Linked DNA regions of Homo sapiens: region 2 is linked to region 1. Evidence: promoter capture Hi-C in 16 types of primary human blood cells and fetal thymus (Javierre and others, 2016). All regions are on one chromosome and are shown on one strand. Each heading gives the region's core, a stretch centred on a gene start or on the middle of the fragment in contact. The rest is flanking DNA. Distances are from core to core; before and after follow the strand shown.

Evidence for each region. The method cuts DNA at HindIII sites, captures the fragments that hold promoters and counts their contacts. A CHiCAGO score of 5 or more calls a contact.
Region 2: a fragment that was not itself captured here is called in contact with the fragment with the promoter of PDCD5 in region 1 in 1 of 17 cell types (total B cells); the score reaches 6.7 in total B cells.

Annotation. Positions count from the first base shown.
Region 1 is chr19:32,579,022-32,583,848 of GRCh38, reverse strand. It overlaps PDCD5 (programmed cell death 5), which reads right to left and starts at 2,659. Exons shown (of 6, transcript NM_004708.4): 1 at 2,522-2,659; 2 at 1,617-1,654. The coding sequence starts at 2,587. RefSeq lists silencers at 2,658-2,834, 2,180-2,909 and an enhancer at 3,120-3,209. The HindIII fragment of the contact is 4,450 bases long and covers 2,055-4,827 here.
Region 2 is chr19:29,933,847-29,938,673 of GRCh38, reverse strand. It overlaps a transcript of URI1 not described here. Among named protein-coding and RNA genes, the nearest start is that of URI1, 6.0 kb to the left of the region's middle. The HindIII fragment of the contact is 153 bases long and covers 2,099-2,251 here.

The sequences.
Region 1 (4,827 bases), core at 1,410-3,909:
ACAACAATAAAAAAAGATGGGGTCTCACTCTGCTGTTCATGCTGGAGTACAGTGGTGCAATCACAGCTCACTGCAGCTATGATCAGCTCAAGCTCCTGTGCTCAAGTGATTCTTCCCCCTCGGCCTCCTGAGTAGCTGGGTCTACAGGCTTCAGTCACCACACCTGGCCTGCCACAAACTATTATATCACAGAACCCTAAGATGCCATCAATTCTAAGATACACCATAGTTTTACGTATCTCTAAAAATGAAAAACCCTAAAATGAGAGGTCTAATAGAGATCTCCATTCAAAACTGGGGTTTCTCGGGAGGCCAAGGTGGGAGGATCACTTGAAGCCAGGAGTTTGAGACCAGCCTGGGTGATATAGCGAGGCTATTAAAAAAAAAAAAAGTTTAAAAAAATTAGCCAGGCATGGTGGTGCACGCCTGTCATCTCAGCTCCTCAGGAGGCTGAGGTGGGAGGATCACTTGAGCCCAGCAGGAGTTTGAGGCTGCAGTGAGTTCTGATCCCACCACTGGGGTATCAAAGAGCAACATTCTCAGTACAAAGTAAAGAATAAATAAATATGCCATGCAGTAAGGGGCAGTACAAAAGCTTGCATGCACCTGGCCCTGACGTAAAGAAGAAAAAAGTTCAGTCTTACAGGGTTGCTGTCTGAATTCACACTACTAGGCAGGAGGCAGGGGAAAACCTCAAGCAGAGAATTTAACTTTCAATGGTCTCAGAAATGTACTCAAGTGATAGCAGAGTCAAAAGTAAATCCCCTCTGGAAGAATCTGGGGCAAGAGCAATCTGTTTTAAAAGGCATCCTGATTTCAGATATGTGACAATGAAAAGATGTACACGGCAGAAATCAATGAAATTTGCGTCGTTTTACTTCCTATCACTACTCCAGATACTTCTCACCGTCTGTCTTCTCCCGAACCCTCCCTTCCTATTTCTGTAGACCCAGCACAGTGCCTGACCCAGAGCAGGTGCTCTATAAATATTTGCTGGAGAGGAGGAGTAAGAAGGTGAGGAAGGGGAAATAGAGAATTGTCCAGTAGCTAAAGGTTTCAGTCTTGCAAGATGAAAACATTCTAGAGTGTGAACACTACTGAAGAGCACACTTAAAAATGGTTGTGATGGTGAAATTTTATTTAACCACAATTTTTAAAAAATGATAGCATGATAGGGTAATCACATACTCATTCAATAAACCTGCCACCGAATCAATTACCTGCATCTGTCTCAGGTGCTGTGCGCTGTGTTGGGATAAAACAATCAGAATAGCTTACCAGTTAACACTTATTGAGCACTTACTAAGTGAGGCACCGGACTCACGTCACCCCCACAGCCGAGGAAACTGCCACAGCTGCCTATTATCAGGCTCATTTTTAAGGTACTCACATTGTAGCAGAGAAACATCAACCAGTAATTGCAATACAAGGTCTGATGTGGAGCTGCACACGTGTTTATTTAACAATAATGAAGATACCCTGCGGATGATTTTGGCCAAATCACCATTCCAGCAAAACAAAAAAATCTGAGTCACACACCTGCTTAAAATAACTACAGCAAAAGAAATCCATTTGGTGAAACCACCCTTCAAAAAGTTCACGTTTCCAGCCCATACCTGTGCTTTGCTTCCTGTTGGGCCGCATCACCAGGATCCTGGAAAAAAAAAACTTAAATTTAATAGAGAAATTTCACGGGAGGCGGCGGGAAAAAGGAACGGTTCTGTTGTTTCCTATACATAACAGTCTCTTGCGGTGGTAGAAACAACTCCCCAAATAAGAAACTGGGCCTCACAGAAATCAATGAACTAGTTCCCACTTACAACGTTTTGATGAACGTCTAAAACCACAACCTCAGAAGGCTTTGGAATACAGAGCACCCTGGGGAGGGGAATCCCTGTATTACGAAACCGTGTTTCACATGTAGGAATAATTTCTGGAAAATAAAACGGGCCTCGGTATTAGGGACAACGATAACTCAAAGACTGCGCCCTCCGTCCCTAAGGTCCCGGTCCCTTATCAGAAACGCCTCTCCGGGCGTGTGATCCATCCAAGCTTCCCAGGCGGCCCCTCCCTGTCATCCCGGCGGGGCAAGCGTTCCTCCGACCCTGCCGCGCTCTCAGCACCGGGAACACAGCGGACCCTCAATACCTGTCGGCTAAACTTGGGTCATAACAACTGAACTCCGGAAAAACTGAATTCGGTCCGGCTGCTGGCTCCAAAAGCTGAGATTGTGCTTGGATCCAGGCCCGCCAGGACGAGCCCGCTCCAGGCTAGGGGACCCCACACCCCAACGCCAGGGCAGGTCCCGCACGTGGCGGCCCCCGCCGCCAGCCTCCTGGGCCCCTCGCGACGAGGAAAGCGACGAGGCCACCTCTGAGCCGGCCACGAGGCCGCCAGGGCAGCGCAGGGGACCGGGGCCCCGGGGAGGCGCCCAGAGCCTCCGCCCCGGAGGCGCGCCCTACACTCCGGGCGAGGGCGGCGCCCCGCGAGGGCCAAGCCTGGCGGGGGCTGATGCGCTCACCCCGTGTTTGGCCTGCAGCTCGGCCAGCCTCTGTCTCCTCAGCGCCTCAAGCTCCTCGTCCGCCATGGCTCGGCGTCAGCGCTGGAGCAGCCGCGGTCACTCTCGCAGCCCCTCGGCGCGAGCGCGGCCTTGACCACTGCGCAGGCGCTCGCGGGGCCCAGGCGCCACCAATCCAGCCCGGAGCCACGCCCCGCGCCGCTGCCAGGGCGCCGGCAGAGGCCCGATTCCCCGATTTCAGGCGGTCGAGCTTGGGCGCACGGAGGGGCGGGGCCTGGGGCGGGGCCTCCGGGATCCACCTCCCACCCGTGATCGGCGCCTCTGCGTGCAGGGACTTGGGCTGCGCTGGGGCGGGGCTGCGCTTTGGAAAGGTTAAAACCTGAAAGTGTGGCATCAACAAGTATAATAATTATGGGTGCAATGTGCTGGTGACCTAGAGGGTTAGGCGTATATTATCTCTATTTATAGATGAGGAACCAGGGGCGCAGGAAGGCTGAGTGGGGTGATGGAAATGTCCTAAAGCTGGATCGTGGCGGTGGCTGCCCGGCTCCTCGGTGCACACAGAGGCCGGCCGGTGGCTCGCCGCCTGTGGTCCCGACGCTTCGGGAGGCGGTAGGGTCATTTGAGGTCAGGAGTTAGAGACCAGCCTGGGCAATATGGCAAGAGCCTATCTCTACTAAAATTTTAAAAAACTAGTTGGGCGCGGTGATGTGCACCTGTAGTCCCAGCTACTCAGGAGGCTGTGTCAGGAGGATCGCTGGAGCCCGGAAGTTCGAGGCTGCAGTGAGCCTTGATCTCGCCACTGCACTCCAGCCTGGGAGACACAGCCAGACCCTGTCTCTAAAAAAAAAAAAAAAAAAAAAAAAAGTGCACATCTGCCTCCTCGCCATCTGCCTCCTCCACGCACAAAAGGGCTTTTCCTGGGAGGATACTGCAGTGGGCAGCTGTGGCTGGTGTAAACTCTTTGGTGGAACAAATCCCTTCTGCCTTTGACTTGGGGGAATTGGGGGCAGAGAGGATATTCAGCTACCTAAACGTGTGACTCATACAGATTCTGTTTGTTTGTCTGTGTGTGTGTTATTTTATTTTTTACATTAAAAAAATACAGATGGGGTCTCGCTATGTTGCCTAGGCTGGCCTCTATCTCCTGAGCTCAAGCAATCCTTTTGCCTCAGCCTCCCAAACTGCTAACATTACAGGCATGAGCCACCACACCTGGCCTGTGTGTTTTAATTGTGGCAAAATATACACAATACAAAATTTACCATTTTCACCATTTTTAGGTGTACTTTTCAGTGGTATGAAATGCATTATCGTGCAGTTGTCACTCAATCTCAGCTCACTGCAACCTCCACCTCCCGGGTTCAAGCGATTCTCCTGCATCAGTCTCCCAAGTAGCTGGGACCACAGGCGTGCACCACTGTGCCCGGCTAATTTTGTATTTTTTAGTAGAGATGGGGTTTCACCATGTTGGTCAAGCTGGTCTCGAACTTCTGACCTAAAGTGATCCACCTGCCTTGGTCTCCCAAAGTGCTGGGATTACAGGCATGAACCACCTTGTCCACCATCAATCTCTACAACTTTTTTTTTTTATCATCCTGAACTGGAACTCTACCCAGTAAAGATTTAGGTTGGTGTGAGGGGCCTCTAATGGGAATGGGTGGGGGTGGGAGGGGTCTGAGAATAATAATCAGTCTCCACCCATTCTCATTCTAGTTTCTATGAATTTGCCTATTCTGGGTATCTTGTATATGTGGAATCATACAATATTTGTCCTTTTGTGACTGGCTTACTCCACCTAGCATATGTCTTAAAGGTTCATTCATGTTGTAGCATGTGGCAGAATTTCTTTCCCTCTTTAGACTGAATATATTCCATTGTATGGATATACCTAGCACATTTTGTTTATCCATTCATCTGACAATGGACACTTAGGTTGCATCCACCTTTTGGCTATTATTAATAATGCAGCTATGAACATGGGTGTAGAAATATCTGTTCAGGTCTGTGCTTTCACTTTTGGATATATACCCAGAAGAGAAATTGTTGGATAATGTGATAATTCTGTGTTGAGGAATGGCCATACCATTTTCCACAGCAACTGCACTATTTTACATTCCAACCAACAGTGAATGAAGGTTCCAATTTCACCGTCTCCTCACCAATATTTGTTGTGTTCTGTTTTTTTGTTTGTTTGTTTTTTGATTGTTTTTGATAGTAACCATCCTAACGGGTATGAGGTGAGGTGTTGTGGTTTTGATATGCATTTCTCTAACGATTAGTGATGTTGAGCATCTTTTCATGTGCTT
Region 2 (4,827 bases), core at 926-3,425, 2.6 Mb after region 1:
TTTTATTACCTTATTACTTTATTACTTATTATTGGTTAATCCCTTCTTCATGTGCCAGGCCCCCCACTGGGAATGGGAGACAAGAGTTGACCAAGGCAAGCACCAGCCCTGTTCATAGATGTTGGAGTCAATAGAGGGCCACTAACATGGTTTGGATATTGTTCCCTCAAAATCTCATGTTGAAACGTGATCCCTAATGTTGGAAGTGGGGCCTAGTGGGAGGTGTTTGGGTCTTGGGGGCGGATCCCTCATGAATGGTTTGCTGCTCTTCTGCAGTAATGAGTTCACATGAAAGCTGGTTGTTTAAAAGAGCCTGGCACCTCCTCCTTCCTCTCTTGCTCCCTAGCTCTTACTTCCACTTGCCATGTGACGTGCAGCTCCCCATTTGCCTTCCACCATGATTGGAAGCTTCCTGAGGCCTCACCAGAAACCGAGCAGGTGTTGGTGCCACATGCTTGTATGGCCCACAGAACTGCGAGCCAAATAAACCTCCTTTCTTTACAAATTACCCAGCCTTGGCTGGGCACAATAATTCACATCTGTAATCCCAAAACTTTGGGAGCCCAAAGCAGATGGATCTCCTGAGGTCAGGATTTCGAGACCAGCCTGGCCAATATGGTGAAACCCCATCTCTACTAAAGATACAAAAAATTAGACAGGCAAACCTCATGAGACATGAATAAACAGCCAGGGGAGTTCTTGATGAAAAAAGAGGCTGCTGGTTGTTGGTAAGAGAACAGCAACAGGGTGGATGCAAAACAGCTGCCATGCCCCATTTCTCAGCCCTCACCCTACCATGAGGCTGCAGGAATAGCTTTCCTGGAATGGCTGGCTGGTTGCAAGGTGGGCAAGATGACCCTTGTCCTCCAAAAATTGGGGCATTTTTGAGTCCTGAGGGATTAGCACAGACTCCTGTATTGGTTTCAGCCCTCTTGTGCTTCCTATGGCAGCATCCATCAGGAGATTTGAAAGTAAAGAACACCTTTTTGTAGCCAGAAATTTACAGATATCATTTCCAGGTCACTGGTTGCCTGTAAAGATTATGAAACAAAAACATCAGTAACCACATGCAATAAGGACTACACACTTTGCAAACATAGTTTGGAAAAGTCTCTAAACAAACAGATGGCTGCAACCCTCAACAAGCAAAAATCAGCAATCCCTGAAGAGGAGGAGAATCTGATTTTCAGAGTTACTACAATAATACCCAAAATGCCAAGTGCTCAACAAAATATTACAAAGCATACAAAGAAAAAGGAAAGTATAGCCTATTCACAGGGGGAAAAAAAGAATTCAATAGAAGCCATCCCCAAGGAAGCCTTTACATTGGAAACATTAGTCAAAGACATTAAATCAACTGTCTTACACCCAATGAGCTAAAGGAAACCAAAATAATATATGAACAAATAGGGAAGGCCAATGAAGAGATAGTTTAATCTTATAAAAAGGAACAAAATAGAAATCCTGGAGCCGAAAAGTACAATAGCTTGAACTTAGAAATTCACTAGAGAGATCAAAAAGCTGATCTGAAGAATCAGGAAGAAGAAAGAACCAGTGAACTTGAAGATAAGGCAATTGAAATTGTCCAGTTGTAAAGAGAGAAAAATAAATAACGAAAAATAGGCTGGCCATGGTGGCTCATGCCTGTAATCCCAGCACTTTGGGAGGCCGAGGAGGGTGGATCACTTGAATTCAGGAGTTTGAGATCAGCCTGGCCAACATGGTGAAACCCCATCTCTACTAAAATACAAAAATTAGCCAGGCATTGTGACGCGCACCTGTAACCCTAGCTGCTGGGGAGGCTGAGGCCAGAGAATCACTTGAATCAAGAAGGAGGAGGTTGCAGTGAGCCAAGATCATGCCACTGCACTCCAGCCTGGGCAATAGAGTGAGACTCTATCTCAAAAAAAAGAAAAGGAAAAATGAACAGAGCCTGATAGATCCATGTGATGCCATCAAGCATATATCAACATATGCATAGTAGAAGTTCCTGAAGGAGAAGAGGAACAGGAAGGGACAGAAAAAGAAATTTGAAGAAATAATGGCTGAAAACTTCCCAAATTTGATGAAGGATATGAACATACACGTCCAAGAAGCTTAACAAATTACAAGCGCGAGAAACTCAGAGATTCATACTGAAACTCACAGCCAGATTGTCAAAAATCAGAAACAAAAAGAGAATCTTGAAAGCAGCAAGAGAGGAACAACTTGTAAGGTACAAGGAGTCCTCAGTAACATTAATAGCTAAGCTTTCATCAGAAACCATAGAGGGGCTGGGTGCAGTGGCTCAGGCCTGTAATTCCAGCACTTTGGGAGGCCGAGGTGGGCAGATCGCCTGAGGTCAGGAGTTCGAGACCAGCCTGACCAATATGGCGAAACCCCATTCTACTAAAAATACAAAAATTAGCCAGATGCGGTGGTGGGCACCTGTAATCCTATCTACTTGGGAGGCTGAGGCTGGAGAATTGCTTGAACCTGGGAAGTGGAGGTTTCAGTGAGCCAAGATTGCACCACTGCACTCCAGCCTGGGCACAAGAGCAAAACTCTAAAAAAGCAAAACTCCATCTCAAAAAAAAATTTTTTTTAAGTGCCGGGCACAGTGGCTCACGCCTATAATCCCAGCACTTTGGGAGGCCAAGGCAGGTGGATCATGAGGTCAGGCATTCTAGACCAGCCTGGTCAACATAGTGAAACCCTGTCTCTACTAAAAATACAAAAAACTAGCCAGGCGTGGTGGCGGGTGCCTGTAGTCCCAGCTACTTGGGAGACTGAGGCAGGAGAATTGCTTGAACCTGGAAGGCAGAGGTTGCAGTGAGCCAAGACGGCACCATTTCACTCCAGCCTGGATGACAGTGTGAGACTCCATCTCAAAAAAAAAGAAAAGAGAAAAGAAAAGAAAAGAAAAGAAAAGGAACCAGAGGCCCAGAGGCAGTGGAATAACACAGTTAAAGTCCTGGGGAAAAAAAAAAAAAAGACTGTCAACCAAGAATTTCCTACCAGACAAACTATCCTTCAGGAATAAAGGAGAAATTAAGACATTTTCAGATAAATAAACGCAGAGAAAGCTCATTGCTAGTAGCCCTGCTCTACAAGAGCTGCTAAAATGAATCCATCAGGCTGAAATGAAAGGAAACTTGATAGTAATTCAAAGCCATGATGAGAAAAAAAAAGAACACTGATAAAAATAGTAACTACATACATCAGTAAATATAAAAGCCAGTATTATTGTAGGTTTTGTTCATAATACTTTGTTTTTCACCTATCATTTAAAGGGCAAATGCATGAAACAATAATTATAAATCTATGTTAATGGGCACAGAATGTATAAAGATATGATCTGGGACAATAATAATATAAAGAGGGAGGGAAAGAGATGTATAGGAGCAAAGTATTTGTATACTCTTAAAACTAAGTTAGTATTATTCAAATTAGGGTGTTATAAATTTAAGATGCTAATTGTGATCCCCAAGGCAACCGCTAAGAAAATAACTAAAAAATATACAGACAGGGAAAGAAAAAAGGAATCAAAATGATACACTAAAATCTATTAAATACCAAAAAAATGTAGTAGTGGAGGAATTGAGGAACAAAATTTAAAAAATGTACAGAAAAGCAAATAGCTATTAAATAAATGGCAGAATTAAATCCTTTATTGGTAATTACTTTAAATGTAAATGGACTAAACTGTCTAATTAAAGGGCAGAGATTGATAGAATGGATTTCTAAAAATTATTAATTTATATGCTGTCTGCAAGAGACTTACTTTGGATCAAAAGATTCGAAAGGATGGAAAGTAAGAAAATAATATGGGCATGTTGGCTTATGCCTGTAATCCCAGCACTTATGCTACCAATCCCTGGGAAGCCAAAGCAGGTGGATCACTTGAGCCCAGGATTCAAGACTATCCTGAGCAACATAGTGAGACCTGGTCTCTAAAAATAAATAAATAAATAAATAAAATTAAAAAAAAATAAGCCAGGTTTGGTGGCACATGCCTGTAGTCACAGCGACTTGGGAGGCTAAGGCAGGAGGATTGCTTGAGCCCAAGAGGTCGAAGCTGCAGTGAGCTATGAGCTCACCACTGCACTACAGCCTGGGCTACAGAGCAAGACCTCATGTCATAACAGAGAAGAAGAGATCTGAACAGTAGCATGTGTGTACACATAAGAAAAACCACGTGGGATTGTAGTGAGAAGGCAGCATCTGCAAGCCAAGGGGTGAGGCCTGAGAAAATATCAACCCTGCTGACACCTTGATCTTGGACTTCCAGCCTCCAGAATTGTGAGAAAATAAATTTCTATTGTTTAAGCTACTCACTTCGTGATAAAGTGTTATCATGGCCCTAGCAAACTAACATATCAATAACCTAACTATGTGGCTTAGGTAACTAGAAAAAGAAGAGTAAACTAAAACCAAAGCTAGCAGAAAGATGGAATAAGGCCAGGCATGGTGGCTGATGCCTGTAATCCTAGCAATTTGTGAGGCCAAGGCAGGTGGATCACCTAAGGTCAGAAGTTCAAGACCAGCCTGGCCAACATGGTGAAACCCCGTCTCTTCTAATAATACAAAAATTAGCCGGGCGTGGTGGCAGGCACCTGTAATCCCAGCTACTTGGGAGGCTGAGGCAGGAGAATCACTGGAACCTGGGAGGCAGAGGTTGCACTGAGCCGAGATGGCACCACTGCACTCCAGCCTGGGTGACAGAGCAAGACTTCATCTCAAAAAAAAAAAAAGGGAAGAAAAGAAAAAGAAAGAAGGAATAACAAAGATTAGAGTGGAGAAAAACAAAACAGAAAACAGAAAAATGATAGAGGAAATCAATGAAAA